Linked DNA regions of Homo sapiens: region 2 is linked to region 1. Evidence: promoter capture Hi-C in 16 types of primary human blood cells and fetal thymus (Javierre and others, 2016). All regions are on one chromosome and are shown on one strand. Each heading gives the region's core, a stretch centred on a gene start or on the middle of the fragment in contact. The rest is flanking DNA. Distances are from core to core; before and after follow the strand shown. Region 1 holds the start of UBL5 (ubiquitin like 5). Region 2 overlaps ZNF559 (zinc finger protein 559).

The links. Contacts are between HindIII fragments. The CHiCAGO score rates a contact against its expected background, and 5 or more counts as called.
Region 2: a contact is called between a fragment that was not itself captured here and the fragment with the promoter of UBL5 in region 1, in 1 of 17 cell types (neutrophils). The highest score is 6.9, in neutrophils.

What each region holds. Positions count from the first base shown.
Region 1 is chr19:9,825,727-9,830,337 of GRCh38, reverse strand. UBL5 (ubiquitin like 5) reads right to left here and starts at 2,420. Exons shown (of 5, transcript NM_001048241.3): 1 at 2,354-2,420; 2 at 1,945-2,011; 3 at 1,663-1,746; 4 at 1,464-1,501; 5 at 223-373. The coding sequence starts at 2,000. The coding sequence ends at 330. RefSeq lists a silencer at 2,304-2,610 and enhancers at 2,654-2,703, 2,114-2,838. The HindIII fragment of the contact is 5,434 bases long and covers 1-2,964 here.
Region 2 is chr19:9,336,068-9,340,475 of GRCh38, reverse strand. ZNF559 (zinc finger protein 559) reads right to left here. Exons shown (of 7, transcript NM_032497.3): 3 at 2,618-2,680; 4 at 1,894-1,982; 5 at 1,157-1,283. The coding sequence starts at 1,926. It overlaps ZNF559-ZNF177 (ZNF559-ZNF177 readthrough), which reads right to left. Exons shown (of 13, transcript NM_001384659.1): 3 at 2,459-2,680; 4 at 1,894-1,982; 5 at 1,157-1,283. Among named protein-coding and RNA genes, the nearest start is that of ZNF559-ZNF177, 14 kb to the right of the region's middle. The HindIII fragment of the contact is 9,717 bases long and covers 1-4,408 here.

The DNA.
Region 1 (4,611 bases), core at 1,171-3,670:
CAATAATCCCAGAGTCTCTTGACCTTCAGACACCCACAGCAAACCCCAGAGCTCTCTCTGGGCTCCCACACAGACTCCCAGCCTGCTGGTCTACTCTGCCCTCATGGATCCAGTTGATCAGAGCTCTTATTTTAGCAGCTGCATGCTGATGGTGCAGTGATGACCAAACAGCGACTGATCCACCCATCACTAGACAGCTGTCATACAGAGACAACAACAAAGCAACATCTAAGTCTTTATTAAGGTGAGTTTTTACAAACAAGCATCTATCCCAGTGTGGGGGATGAGGATGGGAGAGGAAAGCGGGGCAGGAAGATGAGGATTCTCATCTATTGATAATAAAGCTCCAGGTTCATCCCATCGTGGATTTCATCTGAAGGAAAGGTGTTAAGGAATCCTGACTCTGACTTCCGTCCCCACCCCTCTCATCCATTCACAGCCGGGTCAGGTGGCCTGAGGTCTCAGCCCAGGGCTAAGGAAGCCCATTTTGGACCAGGCCATTTTTATTTGGAGAGAACCAAAACTTTACAAAAGAATTTCTGGCTGGGTGCAGTGGCTCACACCTGTAATCCCAGCACTTTGAGAGGACGAAGCAGGTGGCTCACTTGACGTCAGGAGTTTGAGACCAGCCTGGCCAACACGATGAAACCCTGTCTCTACTAAAAATACAAAAAGTTAGCTGGGTGTGGTGGTGGGCACCTGTAATCCCAGCTACTTGGAAGGCTGAGACAGGAAAATCGCTTAAACCTGGGAGGTAGAGGCTGCAGTGAGCCAAGATTGTACCACTGCACTCCAGCCTGGGCAACAAGAGCAAAACTCCATCTCAAAAAAAAAAAAAAAAGTTTCTGTTCCTTCTAGGCCAGGCACAGTGGCTCACGGCTATAATCCCAGCACTTTGGGAGGCCGAGGCGGGAGGATCACTTGAGGCCAGGAGTTTGAGACTAGCCTGGCATACATGGTGGAACCTCATCTCTACTAAAAATACAAAAACTAGCAGGGAGTGGTGGCACACACCTGTAATCCCAGCTACTTGGGAAGCTGAGGCAGAATTGCTTGAACCCGGGAGGTGGAGGTTGCAGTGGGTCAAGATCGTGCCACTGCACTCCAGCCTGGGCGACAGAGCCAGACTGTCTCAAAAAAATAAATAAATAAAATAAAAATTGTAAAAAGTTTCTGCTCCTTTTGCACAATAGATATGCCTGAGTCTCACCCCACCCTGACCTACTGTCCAGCACTCAGGTGGAGGTCAGTAATAAATATTTTGAACTTGAAGTCAAACTATTTCACCAACCACTCTCCTCCCCAACCAAATAATTACCTAGCTCCCATTTTCTAAGTGCTCACCATGTGCCACGTATTAAGTTAAACACTTAATATGCATAAGCTCATGCAGACTTTAGTTTTGAACAGATAACCGAGGCTGGGTATGTAGATGCTTCCTCAAAAAGTCACACAAAGGATACAGTCCCCCAGAGACACGTGGTCCTTAAAAATCGTGTACCTAAGAAAAAGAGACATTTCAGAGATAAGGCTAAGGAGGCTCTTCAGTCTGTAGGCCAAATGAGGTAGCCAAGCCTAAGCAAAGGGCTGCCTGCAGCGCTCCCCCAACCAAAACCTTCCGGCCTAGTCCAGTCCACCCAGTGGCTCTACCGCTGCACTCACCACTTCTTCAGGACAATCTTGTTCCAACGGGTACCAGTTTGGGCTGCAATCAGCTTCTTAAGGTCCCCGATGGTATCATCCGTGCTGGGCGCAGAGCAGTTAAGGCAAATGGAAGCGGTAGAACGAGGAAGAGGACATTCTAGGGCAGAATACCATCTGCCAGGACCCCATCCGCCCCCTCTCCCGGGTTTAACTAAAACCATCCGACAACACAGATTGAGTTGCCTGCCTCACGCCAAGCACCCCTGCGGGTACCACTGCCTCTCGGCTGCCAGTGGATACTTGCATTTAACGCGGACCTTCTTCCCCAGACGGTCGTTGCAAACAACCTCGATCATCCTAGCTGGAGCTACACAAAGCGGGGGGTGGGTGGGAGGCAGCAAAGTCAGAGCTTCAGGCGTCTCCCAGGCCCAGAAGCCCCAGCCTACAAGTCTCCCAGTCCCAGGCCCTAAAATTCCAGGTTACTGAGCCTTCCGTTCTGCCCCCAACCCCCCGGACTCGAATACTCCCAGGCCCCAAGTCCCCTGTCCCAGGGCCGCGAACCCCGGGGAGCCGCGCCTCCGCCCCTTCTCGCCGCCTGAAAGCCCTGCCACAAAACTCCCTGGCCTCACCTCCCACCGACCCCAGACCCTGGGTGGCTGGGTCGCGACAGCTTTCTCCGACTCCGAGCCTCTCCGCTTGACCCCCTCACCTCGAATCGCCTCGAACCTGCCGACGCCACCAGCTCCTCACCCGAGCGCTGAACCCCGGTCGCAGTTAACGCTAGGAACCGGAAGCGGAAGTTAAAGTTCGAGGCCGGAAGCCCTGCCCCTAGCCAGGGGGTGTGGTCAACACTGGGACAAGTTCTTCCGGGTCTGCAGTCTGTGGTGTGTTTGCTGTTCCCAGGTACGGTTTCGGTGTCCCAAGGCTTGACAGGTGTCGCGCCTGTGGTAGGCGCGCCGGGTAGAGAGGGGGGCCTCGGCGGGTTTGTGGCCAGGGAAGGGGCGTGGAGCGAGAGTCAGAGGTCAGGCGCCGGCGCCCAGCTCGTTTGAAGTCATTGTTTGTTGCAGGGAGACTCGGTCACATGGTGGGGACGCCAGAGGGTCCCGGGAGTAGGGGTAAGCTCCTGATCCTGAGCCCGAAGCCTCTTGCAGCGGCAACTAGGAGCAAGGGCGGAGGGTGGGGGTGGGGGACGAGTTCTGCAGTCATCCCTTCTGACCCCCTGGGTTCATTCAGGGCTGGGCTTGGTGAGCATTTGGCTCACCTCTTCCCTCTGGCCATCGCGTTCCCCCGGGATACGGACTCCAGTCAGTAGGCGAAGCTTGATCCTAGAGTAGACTCTACGCTGCCCAACAGCTGCTGTTACCGCATGGTGCCGGACAGTTCCAGGCTCTTGGTGTCCTGAAGAAAGATTTGGACCAGACACACAGAGATGGCAAAGCTGCAAGTTTATTAAGCACAGTATTCCACTCTCGGAGTGGGGAGAGCGGACTGACCTCTGCGAGATAAGATCAGCCCCAGCTTGGTATAGTTTGGGTCTTTTTTTTTTTTTTTTTCTGAGACGTAGTCTCGCTCTGTTGCACAGGCTGGAGTGCAATGGCGCGGTGCCGGCTCACCGCAACCTCCGCCTTCCGGGTTCAAGCGATTCTCCTGCCTCAGCCTCCCGAGTAAGTAGCTGGGATTACAGGCGCCCGCCACCACGCCCGGCTAATTTTTGTACTTTTAGTAGAGATGGGGTTTCACCTTATTGGCCAGGCTTTTTTTCTCTTCCCAAGGCTGCCTAATATCTAGCCAGTGTCTACCTTTTTGAATGATAGGTGTGTTGCTTACTTTGGCCCCTGTGTGCTTGAGAGCCGCCTCCATTCATGATATGCCGTCCATATGCATGAGCGCTAATGAGCTGGTTATCCTTATCATGTTAAGGATACTTTTTGTCTTTAATGCGCGTGCTTATGCCTAAAGAGCTGCTCCTTACTGGTTTGGTCCTGATTTCCCCGGCCGTGGGATTTTTACTGTTTTTTTTTTAATTTTATTTATTTATTTATTTATTTATTTATGGAGTCTCGCTCTGTCGCCCAGGCTGGAGTGCAGTGGCGTGATCTGGGCTCACGGCAAGCTCCGCCTCCCGGGTTCACGCCGTTGTCCTGCCTCAGCCGCCTCCCGAGTAACAGGGACTACAGGCGCCCCCCACCACCCTCGGCTAATTTTTTTGTATTTTTAGTAGAGACGGGGTTTCACTGTGTTAGCCAGGATGGTCTCGATCTCCTGACCTCGTGATCCGCCTGCCTCAGCCTCCCAAAGTGTTGGGTGTGAGCCACTGTGCCCGGCCTTTACTCAGTTTTTAATCTTCCTTTTGTTTTGTCTCCTCAGCTTCTGCCATTTATCTTGCTTCTTGCTGGGTGAGCAAGAAGGGGCGGGTGCCCTTTCACCTTGCTTCTGCTCTCTGCTTTTACGTATTTTACCCTTTATCCAACTTTTAATTCCCTTTGCTATTCTTCTGCCTCATTTTCCCTATTCTCCTTTCTCACTGCCAGTCACCAACCTTAAATGCCTGCGAGGTAACTGGAAACATTGCACATTTGCACAATCTCCTGCAGCTGTATCTTTGGGGAGCACTTTGTACCAGATTCCAGGTTTGTGAGGGCTGGTGGGACAAGGACCGTCCTTCCTCAATTCAGTCAAACAATTTGTAAACCAAAAAGTATCTGAGACAGGTCTCAATAAATTGACAGGTTTATGTAGACAAGGTTAAGGACAAGCCTGGGAGAAAAGGAACACAAAACCCCAGGAACAATCTGTGATCCGTGCTTTTTTCCAAATATGATTTTGAGGGCTTCATTATTTAAAGGGAAAAGTGGGCTGGAGGGGAAAGAGGGAGAGTATGGTCACATTATTTAATCTACATGAAGAATACTCCATTATGTATTCATTTGGTGCTCAGTAAATTGGCACTTTCCATAACATAAAGTA
Region 2 (4,408 bases), core at 1,555-4,054, 490 kb after region 1:
AAGGAAATGGATACAGAGCTAAATGCAAATCATAAATTTAAAGGAGAAGTGAGACAGATCTTAATGTCAGAGCAAAAGAAAGTTTCCAAGATGGATAAAGTGAAAGAGAAGTTAAGGTACCCAAGGAACCTTGGAAACCAATTGGCCTTGATATTCTCCCCAAAAAAGTACACTTTCAAAACCTTCCTACTTAATATTTATAAACAGACTGCACCTCTCATAGATCAGGGCTGTTTCTCACAAATAATCACATCTGTCTTTTCTCTCATCTTGGAGAATTTTCTGCGCTGTCTTTAACTCTTCTTGTTTCACCTGAAAAGTCAAACTATGTTTGCATAGCTAGTACCCTGGTCTCAGGGAAAGATGAATGATGTTAGAATGTGCAAGGGATGGCTGGGCACAGTGGCTCATGCCGTAATCCGAGCACTTTGGGAGGCCGAGGTGGGCGGATCACAAGGTCAAGAGATCGAGACCATCCTGGCTAACACAGTGAAACCCTGTTCCTACTAAAAATACAAAAAAAAAAAAAAAAAAAAAAAAATAGCCAGGCGTGGTGGTGGGCGCCTGTAGTCCCAGCTACTCGGGAGGCTGAGGCAGGAGACTGGTGTGAACCCGGGAGGCGGAGCTTGCAGTGAGCCAAGATCACGCCACTGCACTCCAGCCTGGGTGACAGAGCAAGACTCTGTCTCAAAAAAAAAAAAAAAAAAAGTAAAGAATGTGCAAGGGATAACAAATGCTTCCATGTTAAGAGCTAAGATTTTGCTGTCTGGGCATTCTGAACCCTCTCAGATATAACTTAAATTACAACACAATGTTCATGACAAAAACTTTCAAGTGAACCTAAACTTCAAATACTCTTTTCTCATTCACTGTTCACCAAAAGGACTAGCAATCCTTCCCATGAAACCCAGGCTTAAGCTCATACACATATTCAAGAAGCTCTAAGTCTTTTATCCATGGAGAAAATAAAGCTAGAACAATGAACAGATCTTCAATTTCATCAGAAAAATCACAAGGCAGTAAGGTCTATGAGATGGAAACAATGTTTCGCCTGTTTACCAATGCAGCCCATTAACAAGCAGAGTCTAGAACATAGTTACTTAAGACACATTTGTTCCAGAAAAAAACTAAATGAAAAGAATGGTACCAGCCTTACCTACTGCAACTAGATTCTTATAGTTCTCCAGCATCACATCTCTGTATAAGTTTCTCTGAGTTTGATCCAGCAAAGTCCACTCCTCCTGGGTGAAGTCCACAGCCACATCCTCAAAGGTCACTGAGTCCTAAACCATCACACACATGCTGGCGTCAGGCAAGTACGTTCTCCACTATGTTGACTGGAGAATGAGGGACCTTGTCTTGGCATGCCTTGACAAGACTCTTTGGTCTCCTATCACTTGATGGTCCTCACTTTCTTCTCCCCTGTCTGTACATATTCACCGGTGATCTCATCTAGTCATATGGCTTGAAGAGCACCTCTTTCACCTAACTGAATATATCTCAGCACAACTAGATTGTGACTTCTTCTTATTGTTCTCTACTGACAGGTTTTAGCACAACCCTGAATACATTATAGACACTCAAATAAATGCTCCAGTGACAGCACAAATTCCGAGAAGCACATGTGCATTCTCTCCCTATCACAGCAAAATGAAAGCATATCAGCATGGATGACAGTCAGACTGAATTAGTAAACAGTGGGATAGTACAATCATTTCCCTGTGAAACCTGTCAACCATGTGAGAGGCCCTGTGGTCCGAAGAAGTTTGATGAGAGATGTGGTCCCTAAGCAGACCCTCTTTGCTTGCAGGGGCCCTGTTCCACTAGGAGAAAACACATCTACATGGTAGGAAGAAGCATATGCTTCTACAGAAAAAGCAATTTCCTACTTACCTGAGAGTAATTTGTCAACCACCCAGCCACCATCCTTTCCTCTTCAAATTTTGACTCATGAAGACAGAAAACATCTTGAGAAAGATGATCTTAAGAAGAAGAAATAAAATCTGAGAATCCAGGCTGCTGATAGCTTCCATACTCACAAGGCAAGAAGCCACCTCATACTAATGCTAAGTGGACACACACACGTTATAATAAAATGCCTGAGCAGCCTGTCTCACCTGAAGCCAGAAAATATGCTTCAGGCTTTGATGACCAGGAGAGAGAGAGTTTAACAATCCCATTTTATAAGGAATACAAAGTCCAGAGAAGTTAACATTTTCCTTATTTGCCAAAAAAGAAACTGATCATGTGATTAAGCAGAACTTCTTCCACAAAAGCCTGCATACTTACTCCTCCTTCCCAAATCCCAGGATTTAGACCACAGAATATTCGTATCTACTTTAGCCTCTTCTAGGTATCTCAAAAGCAGGGCCACTTAGACCCTAAACCCTAATCACAAGACAAGCTGTTCACAGACTGGTTAAAGCAGCGTCTTGAAGGACCATCAATACGGACTTACCACAAAGGGAAAGACCAATGGCCAGCATCCTGTGAGTCTAACAGTGAAATGTGCCTGAATATCTTGTTCCCAAAGTCTCTTCGAGACACTGTCTGAACTTATGGGTAAGTCAATCTCAATTCCTCTTGATTAAGTAGTAGTGGGAGTCTTGCCTCATACCGTCAATCTTTCAGCAACAGGCATTACTCATCTGTCATCAAGCGCCATTCATTAGCCATCTCTCTGCAGAAGATGAAGTTGTTCATGTGAGTGCCACTAGAGTATTATGCCACGTGGACATAAATAATAACAAATCCCGTTTACCTAGTACCCATGTGCCAGAAACAGTGGTAGGATAAGTTCATATAATTATCAAAGCAGTTTTTGTTACTATCATATTAGTTGAGGAAACCTAAGCTCAGACACTAATTAACCCAACATCACCAATTAGAAAGTGTGAGCCAGGATATGAATACAGGTTACTCTGACTCACAAACCTAAACTCCTGAGGTTCTTCTTATTCTCCAACGTGACCATGAGATCGTCATGAAATGATGTACGGAAAGGTTAACTCAACAGGCCTGGGTTGCCCAAACCCTGCACTCTCTTGAGAAAGATCTGTCTTCAGGACTGACACTTGGCTCAGTTTGTGAGAGATGACCTTTTAGCTTATGGAATATCTTCCCTGGTAAGTGTATATTTTTCTATGGTTGAGCTATTGAGCCAAACTATACTAGTGTGACCAGATTGTGTATGCTAACAATATGATTTATGCTGAAGGCCTGTTTTTGTATGCCTGAGGCTTCTGGCAATAATGCATGAGTTTGAACTGTTGAGGGGCTGGGCATAAGTGTATGAAGTCATTCAGGTGCTGTATGCCTACGGGACTAACCCTCAGTAAAAATCCTGGACACCAAAGCTCAGGTGAGCTTCCCTAGTTGGCAACAGTTTGCAGGAATACTACACACTTTTACTAGGAGAATTAAGCACTGTCCATGTGACTACATGGGAGAGAAGCCTGGTTTCTTCTAGACTTCATTCATCTTTTCCCTTTGCAGATTCTAATCTGTACCCTTTTATTATAATAAACCATAACTGTAGGTTTAATAGCTTCTGAGTCCTGTGAGTGCTTCCATCACTGAGCGTGAGGGTGGTGGTCTTGAGGACCCCCAACACAAATGGCTTATTGAATTTAGACATCTTTAGCTCCTCCAGCTGTAAAAATCATGTAGGCCAGGTGGCTTCCCTTCAAGTCCTCATCTCTGGCTTACGCTTTCATTCACTCTGCAAACATTTATGAAGGACCTTATCTTTGTGAGGTAATGTACTAGACACTTAGGATAGAGCAGTCAACTATACAAAAAATGTCCTAGACCTTAAGTATCTCACATTCTAAAGGGCTAAGCAGATAATAAACACATAAGTTTTTTTTTGTTTTTTTTTTGAGATGGAGTCTCGCTCTGTCGCCCAGGCTGGAGTGCAGTGGCGCGATCTTGGCTCACTGCAAGCAAGGTCTGCCTCCCAGGTTCACTCCATTCTCCTGCCTCAGCCTCCCGAGTAGCTGGGATTACAGGCATGCACCACCAACCCCAGCTAATTTTGTATTTTTGGTAGAGACAGGGTTTCCCTATGTTGGTCAGGCTGGTCTCGAACTCCCAACCTCAGGTGATCCGCCTGCCTCAGCCTCCCAAAGTGCTAGGATTATAAGCATGAGCCACTGTGTCCAGCCATAAATATGTATTATGTCAATTGGTGACAAGTACTATGGAAAAAAATAGATGAATGGATAAGTAATATCATCCTCCACCTCCCCTACCACACACACACATATAAATGTATATTTACAGACTCAGAACTGGTTCTGGCAAGAAAATATAAGAAAATAACCATAAGACACTTGAAAACTGACATCTGGCTTCCCTAAAAAAGTTGACACTCAACTTTTTATCCAAAGCAATAGAGTAATAATAA